Regions from separate parts of the Homo sapiens genome. Here regions 2 and 3 are each linked to region 1. Evidence: promoter capture Hi-C in 16 types of primary human blood cells and fetal thymus (Javierre and others, 2016). All regions are on one chromosome and are shown on one strand. The core of a region is centred on a gene start or on the middle of the fragment in contact, and the rest is flanking DNA. Distances in the headings are between cores, read along the strand shown. Region 1 holds the start of RAD18 (RAD18 E3 ubiquitin protein ligase). Region 2 holds the start of ITPR1 (inositol 1,4,5-trisphosphate receptor type 1). Region 3 holds the start of EGOT (eosinophil granule ontogeny transcript).

Region 1 (4,403 bases), core at 1-2,500:
GGGCGACCCGGAGGGGGGTCATGAGCCTGGACCTTGACAGATCTGGTGAGGTCTGGATTTGGTTTGATTCCTGGCTATCTTTTCTTAATATTCAACTGGCTCTACGCTTTTTAACCATTCACTTTCTTCAAGGTAAGTGCGGCAGAAGCCTGGCGCATGCGCAGTACAAGCCCTTAAGCGGCGCCCCGCCCACATACTACTACAACTTCCGGCAGGCTCCGCGCCCGCCTCTGGCGCGTCGCGGGCTGCTGACGTAATGCGGTAGCGCGGGGAATTTCGAGTGGTGTTGGAGCGCCGGAGGCTAGTGGGTGGCTGACCCCCAGCATCCTCGGGAGCGACCATGGACTCCCTGGCCGAGTCTCGGTGGCCTCCGGGCCTGGCAGTCATGAAGGTGAGTGCTTCGGGGAGTTTGGGAGCTCCCGGGTGTCTGCGGGGGGAGGTCCCTCCCTTTGAGGAGGATGTCCTCGCCTTAAGGAGAAAGGATGAGGCGCGAGCGTCGCACTGGGCCCGGGTATCCGGCTCTGCCCTGCCACTAGCCGACCGCGTGGCTCTGGGTCTCAGTTTACTCCTCTGATAAGTGACAAGGACAAGCCTGGTGAGCTGAGGTTGGCAGTCTTATGGCACCAGCTATTCTGCGATCCAATCCCAACAATAACATGGAGAAAAACAGTTATTCCAAACAATGACATCGACAGCTGTTCTTTACTGAAAGCTTACTTTGTGTCAAGCACTAAACAGTGACACCGGACATGATTTTGGGTGGACACTTTATCAGATAACATGTATGTAATCACGTAGCCAAGCAGGTAGTCTCCTTTACAGGCTCTTTCATTTCTTCTGATTATTCTCAATAAACGTAGTGCTCGTTTGTTCTGACATACTGCCCCAACTCCTCTCTAACACACCTTCACTCTTCTCTAACAATTGCTCATGTCTCTTAAACAGAGATCAGGACTCAGGCTCAGCGCTGATCTTGCATTGCGTCTGATTATTTCACTTAAATAACATTTATTTTTGTGGCCACTTTCTGTTTTGGCAAGGCATACCAGTTTCCATTTACAGTAGTGGTGGGCCCTGGATTTGCTCAAGAGCAGATGCACTTTGCTGTGCTGGATAAAGATCAGTTGCTTGGTGTTTCTTCTTGCTCTGTGATTATTTCCGTTTCTCACAGTGGCTAAGATAGCCTTCTTCTCCCTCAGTTTTGTAGACTTGGGGATTATAATACCTGTCCCACTGACTCATAAATTTGACTTTAGAATTAAGTGAAGGCTAAAGTAAGTAGAAGGCCTTGTTCTTCCTGCTGTCATCAGTGACGTCTAGAGTGCTTGGGGACTTGAGATATCTGCATGATGAGAAGCTGACATTGTGAAATGATCCAGGAAAGCTGTAGTTTTGGAGTTGTGGGCTTGGCACCAGGATGCAGTGGAGAAGAGCACAGATTTGAGTTCCAGTGGTCCTGGGTGAAATCTCCTGTCTGCCTCTTGACTGTATGACCTTCGGTTAGTAACTTAACCTCTCTGAGCCTGAATTTCTTCAACTATAAATTAGAGACAAAAATAACAGTTCATAGGATTGATTAAATAAATTAGTTGATGTATGTGGGCACAGATTCTGCTGTGTATTCACTGTGCTTACTGCAGTGCCTGACACCAAGTGGGTGCTCAAATATTATTTGCTGCTTGATTGAAAGTATCTGGAATGTAGTAAGCATTCAATGAATATATTTTATTATTATTAGCACTGTGTTAAGTGCTTCTTTCCCCTTTTAATTTGTTGTCATGAAGCTTGACTTGGATAAGGAAAGTAAAAGAGCTCTGTAACCTGTAAAGCTCCTGCTTTGTAGATTTAAGCACACTTTACATATTCCCACAATTTCAGTGTTCTTTAGAGGCGGGTTCCATGTCTTCTCTGACTTTGGTATCTCACCACAGCACTGAATGTAGAGTTTGGCACCACAGAGCGTTCAGTGAGTGTTCAACCAGAGAGTTGATTGAGCCCGTATTTTTTTGCTCACATTGGAATCATGGAATCTTAAGGTTAGAAAACCAGCCCCTTTCAGTATTTTAATCTCCTTTATAACACATCTGCCAATTTCTCACCTAATTTTTGCTTGAACTCTTCCAGGCACAAAGAACTATCAGATCCCAGAAGCAGATCTGACTGAAGTTACTTCTTTTATTGAATAGAAGTCTGACTCAGAATCCATGGTTGCTAACTTAGGATTCACAGAAAGACTTTGGAGTCTCAAGTTATTTGTAAAATTTTTGCATGTATGTTTTTCTGAGCAGAGAGTCCATAGTTGTCATCCATTTTTCAAAGGGATCTGTAACCCCAAAAACTTAAGAGTATTTTTGTAATTATTACGTTTTTCCACCCATTTTCTACTTCTCCCTTTCACTTTCTCTCTCTCTAAACTAAAGAAATTTTGGGGAGTCTGCTGACCACTCTCTATTCAGGCATCATTTTTTGTTTAGTTGGTTGAGGCGCATGTGATATGCATGTTACTGTCTTGGAGTGACATGACAAGAAATTTGAACCAGAAATGGCTCATCTGATGTAGTGTCAACTTCCACAATTGTGCTCTGCAGATCTTTCAGAATCATTCCTCCACCAGAAGAGGATGGCATAGATAAGAAAGTGTGATATAATAGACTGGTTCTGGCTTCTGGGCCTGCCTCTGCTCTTAATTGATCTTGAACATAACCCTTTAGATTTTTGTGTCTGTGACAGCTTACCATCCACAATAATGGAAGATTTTGGCATTTTATTATTTCCCTGGTTTTACTTTAACAAAAATTTACTGTTTTTGGCATATTGTAAATGTAATATGTGTACACGGTAGAAAAAAATTAAAATTCAGAATAAGATAAAGGAGAAAAATAAAACCATCCATAATTCTACCACCCAGAGAACCAGTGTTTAACATTTTACCTTATTTTCCTTTGGTTTTTGTGCATTTAAAATTTGGGATCACTGTGGAGTCAACTTCTTGGGTTTGATCCAGCCAACTTAGGAACTCTGTAGACTTTATTTTTAAAATTGGGATACTGATGCTGTGGACTTCATAAGATTGCTATGAAGATTAAACTACAGAGTTGTTATTATTATGTATTATTGGCATAGGTTTGTTTTCTGATTTTTATTTTCCTAGGGCATTAATTATTCTTTGAAAGCATGTTTTTTAATGGCTGCATAATATTTCATCATATGGACCATTAGCGACATTAGTCCTTTTTTGTTTACATTTTTAAAATTCAGGTAATAGGTTCACATGGTTCAAAATACACATAAAATAAAAAGTAAAAGTCTCCTTCTTACCATGTTCCTGGCCCTGATCATTATTTATGACTTCTTGTTTATCTTCTCATTATTTACATTTACAATGAAAATAGAATGCATTCTTTTTTCCTTTTTTTCTTTTTTGAGATAGGGTCTCACTGTCGCCCAGACTGGAATGCAGTGGCAATCACGGCTCACTGCAGCCTTGAACTCCTGGGCTAAAGCAATCCTTCCGCCTCAGCCTCCTGAGTAGCTGGGACTACAGGCATGCGCCACTACTCCCAACGAATTTTTAAATTTTTTATAGACATGGATTTTTGTTATTTTGCCAGGCTGGTCTCAAACTCCTGGACTCAAGCAGTTCTCCTGCCTTGGCCTCCCAAAGTGCTAGGATTACAGAGCCACCATGCTAGGCCTATTAGAATACATTCTTACTCACCTCTTCCTTTTAAACAAACCGTAGCATAGTATATGTACTGTCTATACCTTATTTCCTTTTTTCACTTATCTTGGCAATCTTTTCATATCAGTATGATGGAGAGCTTCCTCTTTTTTTTTTTTTTTTTTGAGACAGTTTCACTCGGTCATGCAGGCTGGAGTATAGTGGTGCGATGTGGGCTCACTGCAACCTACGCCTCCTGGACTCAAGCGATCCTCCCGTCGAGAGCTTCCTCCTTTTAAAAAATATTTCTGTTGAATGGAATAATATTTTATTTTAAACAATTTGAAAGATTTTAGGTTGCCAGAGTAGTTCCGTTCCTGTTTGGATTGCATTCCAGGTTGGCACACATCTCTCTTTCCAAGTTGTCCACTTTCCCTTCCTCTGCTTTCACTGCCCCAGCTCTTTCCAGGCTTCCTCATTTGGCTGCATGTGTAGTACCATGCCGAAAGCACTGGACTGCCAGACGGGAGACAGGAATTTTGGTCTTGGCTTGACTGATGCCTACTATTGTGTGCCTGCTTTTGATACCAGTTTCCTCTTTTGACTAGACAGTTTCTGGAGTTTGGCTTTAACATTCTTTGATTTGATTCTTAACTTGTGTGGTGGCAATGGCCACCTTTCACCCAATAGTGACTATAGGCTAGGTGTTGGAGTCTGAAGAGGAGGAGGCTTGGAGTAAGAG
Region 2 (4,403 bases), core at 1,712-4,211, 4.5 Mb after region 1:
GAAAGAAAAAATGGAGAACAAAAACGTCTGCACAACTGGCTGCAAAGCAAACTGGAAGGTATATGAAAAGGTATCAACATTTCACATTGCAGTCTAACTGCAGTTTAAACTTTCGAATTATTCAGATGGGGAAACGCCTGATCCTTTTAACCTACTCAGATTCTTTGATGTAAACAATCAAGATGTATTTCAGCTAGGAGGTGAGCCTAATGCTTAACTTACATAATGTTCCTTGTGGTTTTGTTTCTTTTTACTCTCCCCATTCAGGCTTTCCAAAATGAACTCATTACAGTATCTAATACCTCCTCAAATATCTGCACTCTTTTATCCCTATGTTTGTGGCTACATCCTTTCCTTCTTACATCAATGTTATGTATTATTTCATCATTGGTGGGAGGTATGCAAGTTATTTCATCAGTAGCAGTAAGTTTACCATTTTTCCTAGCTTCCCTCTCACCACCAGCATCCCCAAATCAACTGAGGTCCATTTGTGGGATGCAGTACAGCCTCACCGCCTGAGGTTACACCCTGCTCCTACTTTGTACTAGCTACTGGGCAAGTGATTTCACTCTCTGCACCTCAGTTTCTTCACCTGCATCTGACGCACAGGGTTTCTGAGATACATGGCTCTGGACCTGGCTTACAAGTACTTAATGTGTCCATCTTATTATTTTTAGCAACCAGTTAGAAAAGAGTCTGTGGACCAGTTTTTCCTTGCTGTACAGCTAATTCTGAAAAGGGGAACTGGGCCTAATCCTTGGCTCTATGAGCACCCACACAGCCATGTGAGTCAACAGAACTCCAAGAAGAAACTAGAGTTCTCACATCCAAATGCTTCTCACTCCGCCAGTACTCCTGAGGATCTTATCAACAGGAAACAAAAGCACTATACCACTATAATGAAGTGTCTGACTTTTATTTTCTCATTAGAAAAGCCCAAAGATTGTAGCCCAGGGAACAGCTAAATATTTAGAATGTTAAAAAAGTTATTAAGACCCAGCCACCCACCCCCACCTACCTCTGTTACCCTGTTATTTACCATGTTCCTGAACATTTCAGGAGAAAAAACTCCTGATAGCCAAATCTGCAGCAATAGTGATGTACGTGCACCCGTTGAAACCTCCCACTCTTCAAATGCAGTCTGACCATTTTGGGGAAAAAATAGGAACTGTTGTGTTTACAGATAAATGCTGCTCTCAGCTCATATTCCACCACGGGCCCCAAAACAACAGGGACCTGCCAGATTCCTTGACACTCAGGTGGCTTGAGTCAAGGGCTGGATGCTACCACCTTAAGCTTCAATAACTCACTTCCCTTTTTAAAGTTCTAATTCTTTCAACTTGCAGCAACCACTTTCATTTCTTGCAATCCAACCTACTCTGATTAAGCACACGTTCAAAATTAGAAAAGAGTGACTATTTCTTGAAGGAGAGAGGCAGTTAATACTGCTTACACATTTTGGCATATGAAATGCACTGTATCCTTCAGAATTTAAATCATCAGCATGCTTTTCAGACCGGCAATGGGCCGCCGTTTTATTGCTCCATTTAATGGCCTTTTCCCCTCCTCTCTCATAAACTTTCAGGCTCCTTCAATTCTCAGCTACTTCCAAGAAACGGACTGTCCACTGGACCTCTGCTCCCAAAAGCCCTCACCAAAGGCAGAGGCAAATTTTGAAGACTGAGCCACGGAGTTTCTTTTTCTTTCTTACTCCCCACCTCCTTGGCGGTTTAGATAGAACTTAAAATAGGCTTAGGACAAAAACTCATTATTGACTACAGCACTCAGGCTTCCACACTCACCTGACCTGGGTCAGGCACTCTGTTGCCAAAGCAAGCCCAGCGAGGGGTGCAAATCCTGCTCCTCTGTAGTCAGCTCCTAAATATTTAGAAAGAAAGAAGACTGAGTACCAGACCGCGGAAGATGAGCTCTAACAGAAATGCTCCAAATTACAAGTTTCCACCTTCTTTAGCCTCCTTCACTGGGGACAGCCCCCCCGCCCCCAAACTTGGTAGGCAGGTTGGTGGGATCGCTTGGGCGAAGATTCCAGGTAACTACGCTTACTTATTTCCAGGATGTAACTGACAATTGAGACTAGGCACGCACAAACTTCGAACGTGCGGGAGGCTGGAACTAAGGGAAGTGTTTGGCAGATCCCAAAGCACTTGTTTCCCGGCGAGAAGGCCAAGTATCCGAAGCCCGCATCCTCATTGGACATGAGCTTCGTCCACACTTCATCCCTCACCGCTTCTCCGGTTTTCTTCCGTTTTTAAAAACCCTCCCCACGGGGGGCCCCTACACATGCATTATTCTCCCAACCACGGAGCGCAAGAGAGGGATACATTTTTAGAAAGATTATTTCCTTGAGCAGACTCACATATGACACCCCCACAACCTCTCTTCAAAAAAAAAAAAAAAAAAAGAACTATTTCCTGCAGCTGCAGCAACAGTTTCCAACTTGGGGGAATGCCACATCAGACCAGAATGGGGAGCCCCCAAAGCCACGCACTAGAGTAGAGGATATTTGTTTTTTAAGCTTCAAATGAGCTCCCCCCAAAACAACTGCCCGCAGTAAAGGAACCCCCAAATGCATGCCAAGTGCATGCACATCCATCAAGATCTCCCCGAGAGCGGGGCAAAAACTTCTGCGCCCGGGGAGCCAGTGCCAACTCCCCGCGCCCTCTGCCCGGCCCCAGCCGCTACCTTGGTGCCCGGGGAGCCACGCCGGTTTGGGGGAGCAGGGCGAGGAGAGGGGTTAGCAGCCGCTGGGTAATCCCATGTCCGCGAAGAGGGAGCTCGTTCCGTTAGGATGGAAGCGGAACACCCACACCTCCTCTCGGCGTGCGCTTTCTCTCTCTCCACCCCCTGCCTCCTCCTCCACCACCACCTCCTCCTCCTCCTCTCCTCCCACCCCAGCGAGCTTGAGGAAACGCTTCAGCAGCACATCCACATGGTTACTGCACTTTAAAGCGGCTCCGGGTGGCTTATATAGGCCGGGAAGCTCCCTGGGCAATGTAGTCCAAGTAGCGGGTCGTGGCGGCGCCTGAGGCTGCGGGGAGGGACTACAAGTCCCAGAATCCCCTGGGCGCCCGGGCTGGGCCCTAAATAGACGCGTGCGGGGACAGGGGAGGGGCGTCCTGCGAGGCTTTCAGGCTGCTGAGCCTGTTCCTTGGCTGGGGTCGGTAGGGCTTGGAGCCAGCCGTTCAAAGTCACCCCTGGGAAGCGCCCGCAACCCTTGGGGACGCCTCTCCTCCGGCTGCCCCCCTTCCCTGGAATCCAGGTGTCACTGGGGCCGGGGAGGGGCTAGGAGCTCGGATTTCTGCTTTGGGAAGTTTTTACAAGCCCACCCTCCCCCTGCCTTGGTTCCCCGAGCCAAGAATTTCAGAAATCCGGGGCACAAAAACGCCAGTGTTTGCGGTCAAGGATTAAAGGCGCGAGGTGTCTTTATTTAATCTGCTCCGCCCTGCTCGGGTTTGCACGAGAAACCAAGCCTGGGAGCGACGGTCCACGCAAGCGGAGACACAGGCAAGTCGCGTGAGAGCACTTTTCTGAGCCCGAGTTGCTTGTCTTTTATCGCCCGTGAGGAGGTAAAGAAAGGCAGACCTCTCCGGTGCACAAATAAAGGAGCCGTGTTGTGACTTGCCGGCTCTGAGATTGGGAGGCAGAAAATAAATACAAACCGCGACCTCAGTCCTGACCGTACCTCTAGCAGCCCCTCTGCTCCTGGGAGCTGTAAATGCTTAAGTAAATAAACCGCAAACCAGAAAAATAAGGGCTTAGGAAAGAGCCGCTCACACAGAGATGCGCATCCAGGCGGGGCGCTCTCCAAGAGCTCCGAATGGGGCAAGGTGGGTTTCACCCGCTGCCAAGTAATGCCTGGGCTCCCGGGCTACACGCTGCTTAGGGCTCCGGCTTTTGCAAGGAGGGGAAGAGCTAAGCCCGGAGGCAGTCAGCCGACTGCCCTGTCTTGCCTCAAATGACGTATATTCATTCCTCAAACGTTTCCTGAGTGTTTACTAGGTGCCAGGCGCTGGGGCATAGTGGTGAGCCAAACGCATTATAGCATCCCAGACAGGCACTTCCTGACGCCGCCTAAAGATCTGTTATAACAATAGTAATAATAATGATAATAATCAATGGGGAGGCTGATTTTATTGAGCCCAGACCACATGCAGTTTTCATGCGTCATGCTATTGAGTTTTACCAACTGTAGGTATATTTATTATATCTATTTGGCAGGTGCACAATCCAGGGCTCAGAGAAATCAGGTAACTTCCCAAATGACCCCTCGAGTTAAGTGGTACAGCCTGGACTCCCGTTCCAGACTCTACGTGTATGAAACCCTTGTCTTTGGGGAAATCCACCGCCATTGCCTTAAATAGCCTCTCTCCCCATTTAGGAGC
Region 3 (4,403 bases), core at 1,394-3,893, 4.2 Mb after region 1:
GTTGCAGGGTCAGGGGAGTCGATCTCTGGAAACAACTCCCCAGGTCTTATTTCCATTCTGTGTACCTGAGGGACAATGAATCAACACCAACCAACATTTCCTGTCCTCAATGCTCCGAGGTTCCCAGGGAATTCAACTTGAAATTTATACAGATGCCAAGAATAATCCTTGCCACCCCCCCCCCATTTTCTGTGTTTGTGCAGTCACACGGCTCAGTGAAAGCGATCTCTATCCTGCATCTTTAGCAAGGTAGAAACATACGCATAGGGGTGACTTAGGAACTGGGTGGGTTTGGACAGCTCATTTATTAACTTCCATCCTCAGTTCCCTCATCTGCAATGGAGAAAGAGGAGGAGAACCACTTGAGATTCTATTGCAAGGAGTGCAGGAGAGAAAACAGGTGAGAGCCCGCACAGTACCGGCAGGGTGTCTACACCAGCCACGTTCCCTTCGCTGCTCTCCACACAAACTGTGACAAGGACACTTGGCCATAGAAGCCGAAAAAAATAAATCCACTCAGGCCGGATGGAGGCAAGGACACTGGCTTAGGTGGCAAAGCATCAAGCAAAGCAAGTGCCTCCTTGATGAAGACTGCAGTCACCCCCAGTCAACCCTAGTCCTTCCCAACTCAACTGACTCTCGGGTACAGCCGAGTCTGGTCCCCAGCAGAATGCTCTGGGACTCTTCATGTCTCCCCACCCTGCATCCCCATCTTGCTGTGTGCTGGCCCACCAGGTAACTTCCACACGGCCACAGAGAGCATCCCTGGCAGCTGACAGTAAGATGTACAGATGGCCAAGCGGTTAGAGCAGGGCAGGGTGAAATCACACAGCACTCATCTGGGTAAAGCTGCTTTGTATATTAGGGCTTTGGCGGCGGCAGCGCATATCCAAGCAGGGGACAGGCCCAAGCCAACTTGGTGCCCTTTAGAAGCACCGACTAGGGATCGGCGGGAACCACAGAGATCACCTCATCCAGCCCCGACTTGATGACAAGCCCATCACCCTGGTGGAGCAGATACTTTCCGCAGCTCTGCCCCTGACCGACCACCATGGGGTAGACCGCGTTAGCTTCCTTCACTCAGCTCCTCCAACATCCCAAGCACAAGCCAACCCTCTTCTGAAATACTCTTGCCCTCTGCTACTCTTCACACAGCTCCTTCTCTTCGCATCTGTTGGGTCTCAGCTTGAACGGTATCTCCCCAGAGAAGCCCTCCCTGGCCACGCTTCGTGGCGCCTGTTTGCTTCCCCATCACACTTCTCTGAAGCTCTGATTTAGCTGATGATGAGCTGATTTCCTAGCTCTGTCTCCCACAAGACTGTAAGCTCCTGGAGGGCAGGGGCTATGTTGGTCTCATCCCTGACTGTATTGACGCCAATGTGTATAGCACCTGACACCCAGGGAGTGCTCAGTAAGTAAACATCTGCTATATTAAGCCGGCTGTGGTGACACAAGCCAGTAGTTCTAGCTACTCCGGAGGCTGAGACAGAAAGATCTCTTCAGCCCAGGAGTTCAAGGCCAGCTTGGTCAACACAGTAAGGCCTCTTCTCTCTTTTTAAAAAATTTACTATATTAATGAATGAACAATAATCCTGAAGGAGGTGCAATTCCGAAACACTCAAGCCAAGCTTTGCATCCATGGCAGCTGAAGTATAACTTTATGGCCAGAAGAAGCCTGCATGTGAAAGCTCAAAGTCCTGCTAAGTGGGAATATGCAGCACACCGCAGACCAGCCAAAGGCAGCTGATGTGGTGTTGTCACCTCTACGGGCTTATCCGGTTTTTGCACGTAACTCTGTGATGGGCTCAGCCTGGCTGAGGATCCTTAATCCATCGAGTTAACTGTTAACTACCCCGGCCCCAGTGACACAGCAGCTTGCATGATTAACTACAGCCCGGGAGGGATGATCATTTGTGCACCTTCCGTCTCCAAACCTGGCTCCCTCCCCAGACTTGATAGCTACAAGCTCTGGGCTCAACAGTTTGTGGGTTTGTGTTGCAAGGAGGCTAATAAAAACATATTTCTCAAATACCATATGGTGAGGGCAACTGCAACACATCCTCCTCGAAGAGCAATAAAATATATATATTTTTAAAGTCCTGAATTCCAGGGGAAAAACGAGGCTTGAAGACTTCAGAGGGTTTACAGGACTATCCCCTTCAGTGTCAGAGCCATCTTGATCAAAAGTCTAAAACCCAGGAATAGGAAATTGGTAGAAACTTTGAGAGAGCCTCTGACAGTTTCAAAGAGGAACTCAGAGGACCTCAGGAAATGTGAGCGGGCATAGATTTCTCCGTGAAAAGGAGGGTCAAGGCAGAAGAACCAGAGGCAACTGTGAACATCAAGTCAGTTCTCAGGGAAGCAGGGGATCCAAGTGTGTACATGAGGCGCCTTCACTGTCCCTGCATCAGGAATCTAGCTGTTGGCACCTTATAATGAGAAAACAGTCTCAACCATGAAGTTAACTCTGCTGGAAGATTTCCAAAGGGAAAGTCCCTCCCGTTACTCAGAGGGGAAAAAAAAATTACCTACTTGGTCTGGAATCCGGGGATATTTTATGCAGATGTCTCTAACAGAAGTTAATAAAGGGAAGTCAGCTTGCCTCTGATTATTCAAACAGGCTACTGCTATTAAGGATTGCACAACTTCTGGGCAAGGCAGAGGTGGGTTTGGCTTTTTAAAAATTTTTTCAGCCTGTCCTCATGGAACTACATATTCTTTTCTAAGAACTTTTCATCCTAACCTCCCTACTCACATCTTCTAAGTGTCTCTGCTCTGGTGGGAATGTGATGGACAACACAGAGCCATCTCAGAAGCCTCTGTGGCCACCACCAGGCCGGCCAGGGTGCAGGGGGCCACTCCCTGGGCAGCCATAGGGTTCTCAGCAAGGTGCATTCGTCGTCCCTGCTGAGAATCTGATGGGGCAGCATTTTTTTTTTTAATTAAATGCAAGCTGAGTCATTTCAACCTGCAACCTTCAGGTAACAGGAGTTACCCAAGCTCCAGGAATTATGATTGTGGGGTAAACCCATTCTCTTGTTTTCTTGCGGTTCTATTTTATAACGCACTAGAGGAGACAGAGACGTCATTGCTTCACCCAGGGCAAGAGGACAAAGGAGGATGCATGGAAATACAAACAGCCCTTCTCCTCCAGGCCATACCGACTGTCCAACTAGCAACAGACTTCACCTGGTTTTGGAGCAATCTGAATTTGGAATATGCCAGAGAAAACTTCTATCAGGCAAGATGGAAGACTCCTAGGATAGGTCTCTCTCATGGAGGGATTGGTAATAAAAAAATCATGGGAAAAGAAATAAGGGAGGGTGGAAAAAACACACCTTAGAAAACAACTTCTGATGTCCCGGGGCTACACAATGGGGGAGCTGAGCACTTAGGAAGGAGAGGGAAAATATTCTGTTTCCGGAGACAGCTCCAAGAATCATGAGTAGGTGTGAGAAACAAGGAAGCTTACAGATTTAAAAAAAAAAAGAAAGAAAGAAAGGAAGGGGGCAAAAGGAAGGAGTCAGGGAAGGGGGGAGTGAGATCTTTGAGAGACAGGGGAATTAAAAAACACCATAGCAACAACGCAGTCCACCTACCCTGGCCGCCCACCCACAGCCAGATTCTTTACTGACGCATTTGAGAACAAGCTGGTTCCTACCAGCTCAGGAAGGTGAGCAAACCCAGAGAGCTCATTAAATCCCTTCTCAGCGACTCTTGTCTGCCTGCAGATAGTGAGCAAGGAGGATATAAATAGAAGTTATATAACATCTCTTTGTTGATTCCTGTGCTTACCAAAAAAAAATGCAGCATGACCTTGTTTTTCTTTAGAGTTTGCCTCGGCCTGCTGGTTGAGGACTTTAATCCAGATAGGAATCATCTTGAAGTTTAAACAGCAGGATATAGATTTCCAAGTTAAGGGTGCTCTGCATGGCCATCCAAGTTAGGAACCCACAGGGTCAAGTCCTCCTCCGCGGATTAAAAAAAAAAAAATCCACCAGCTCTAAAACAACAACAGCAGGTATGGAATCTTGTGGCTTCCTCTTAGAACATCTCCTGAGGTAAATTAAGGAGTAAATTTGATACCCAAGAGCAAAGCATCATTAAAATGGCATCTTGGGTTTTCTAAAGGAGGTTCGAGCACCACAGGTATATTCAAAGGTAACTGGTGGTTTCCACATACCCTCCAGGCCTAAGCAGTTGTCTTTTTGTTCCTTAACAGGCACGATGGTAAGAGTCCAGTGGATGGAAAAGGCCTCCTCCTTAAAGATGGTGATGGAAACGAGCACTGCACAGGGAAACACAAATCAGGTCCCCTGAAATCCAGCCCAACCTGGCCAGACCCTCCAGTGCCCATCAGGGCTTATGAACAGGGTGCTTCAGTGTCTTTGTTAGGGGTGGTT

What was found. The method cuts DNA at HindIII sites, captures the fragments that hold promoters and counts their contacts. A CHiCAGO score of 5 or more calls a contact.
Region 2: the fragment with the promoter of ITPR1 here is called in contact with a fragment that was not itself captured in region 1 in 1 of 17 cell types (fetal thymus); the score reaches 5.9 in fetal thymus.
Region 3: the fragment with the promoter of EGOT here is called in contact with a fragment that was not itself captured in region 1 in 1 of 17 cell types (M0 macrophages); the score reaches 5.1 in M0 macrophages.

What each region holds. Positions count from the first base shown.
Region 1 is chr3:8,959,323-8,963,725 of GRCh38, reverse strand. It overlaps RAD18 (RAD18 E3 ubiquitin protein ligase), which reads left to right and starts at 254. Exons shown (of 13, transcript NM_020165.4): 1 at 254-391. The coding sequence starts at 341. RefSeq lists an enhancer at 237-406. The HindIII fragment of the contact is 1,072 bases long and covers 715-1,786 here.
Region 2 is chr3:4,491,906-4,496,308 of GRCh38, reverse strand. ITPR1 (inositol 1,4,5-trisphosphate receptor type 1) reads right to left here and starts at 2,961. Exons shown (of 62, transcript NM_001378452.1): 1 at 2,704-2,961; 2 at 1,803-1,878. ITPR1-DT (ITPR1 divergent transcript) reads left to right here and starts at 3,146. Exons shown (of 2, transcript NR_108075.1): 1 at 3,146-3,525. RefSeq lists silencers at 1,030-1,324, 2,623-2,892. The HindIII fragment of the contact is 5,640 bases long and covers 2,539-4,403 here.
Region 3 is chr3:4,749,830-4,754,232 of GRCh38, reverse strand. EGOT (eosinophil granule ontogeny transcript) reads left to right here and starts at 2,643. Exons shown (of 2, transcript NR_004428.1): 1 at 2,643-3,287; 2 at 4,223-4,403. The region is part of intron 44 of ITPR1 (inositol 1,4,5-trisphosphate receptor type 1); the gene reads right to left. The HindIII fragment of the contact is 1,839 bases long and covers 1,631-3,469 here.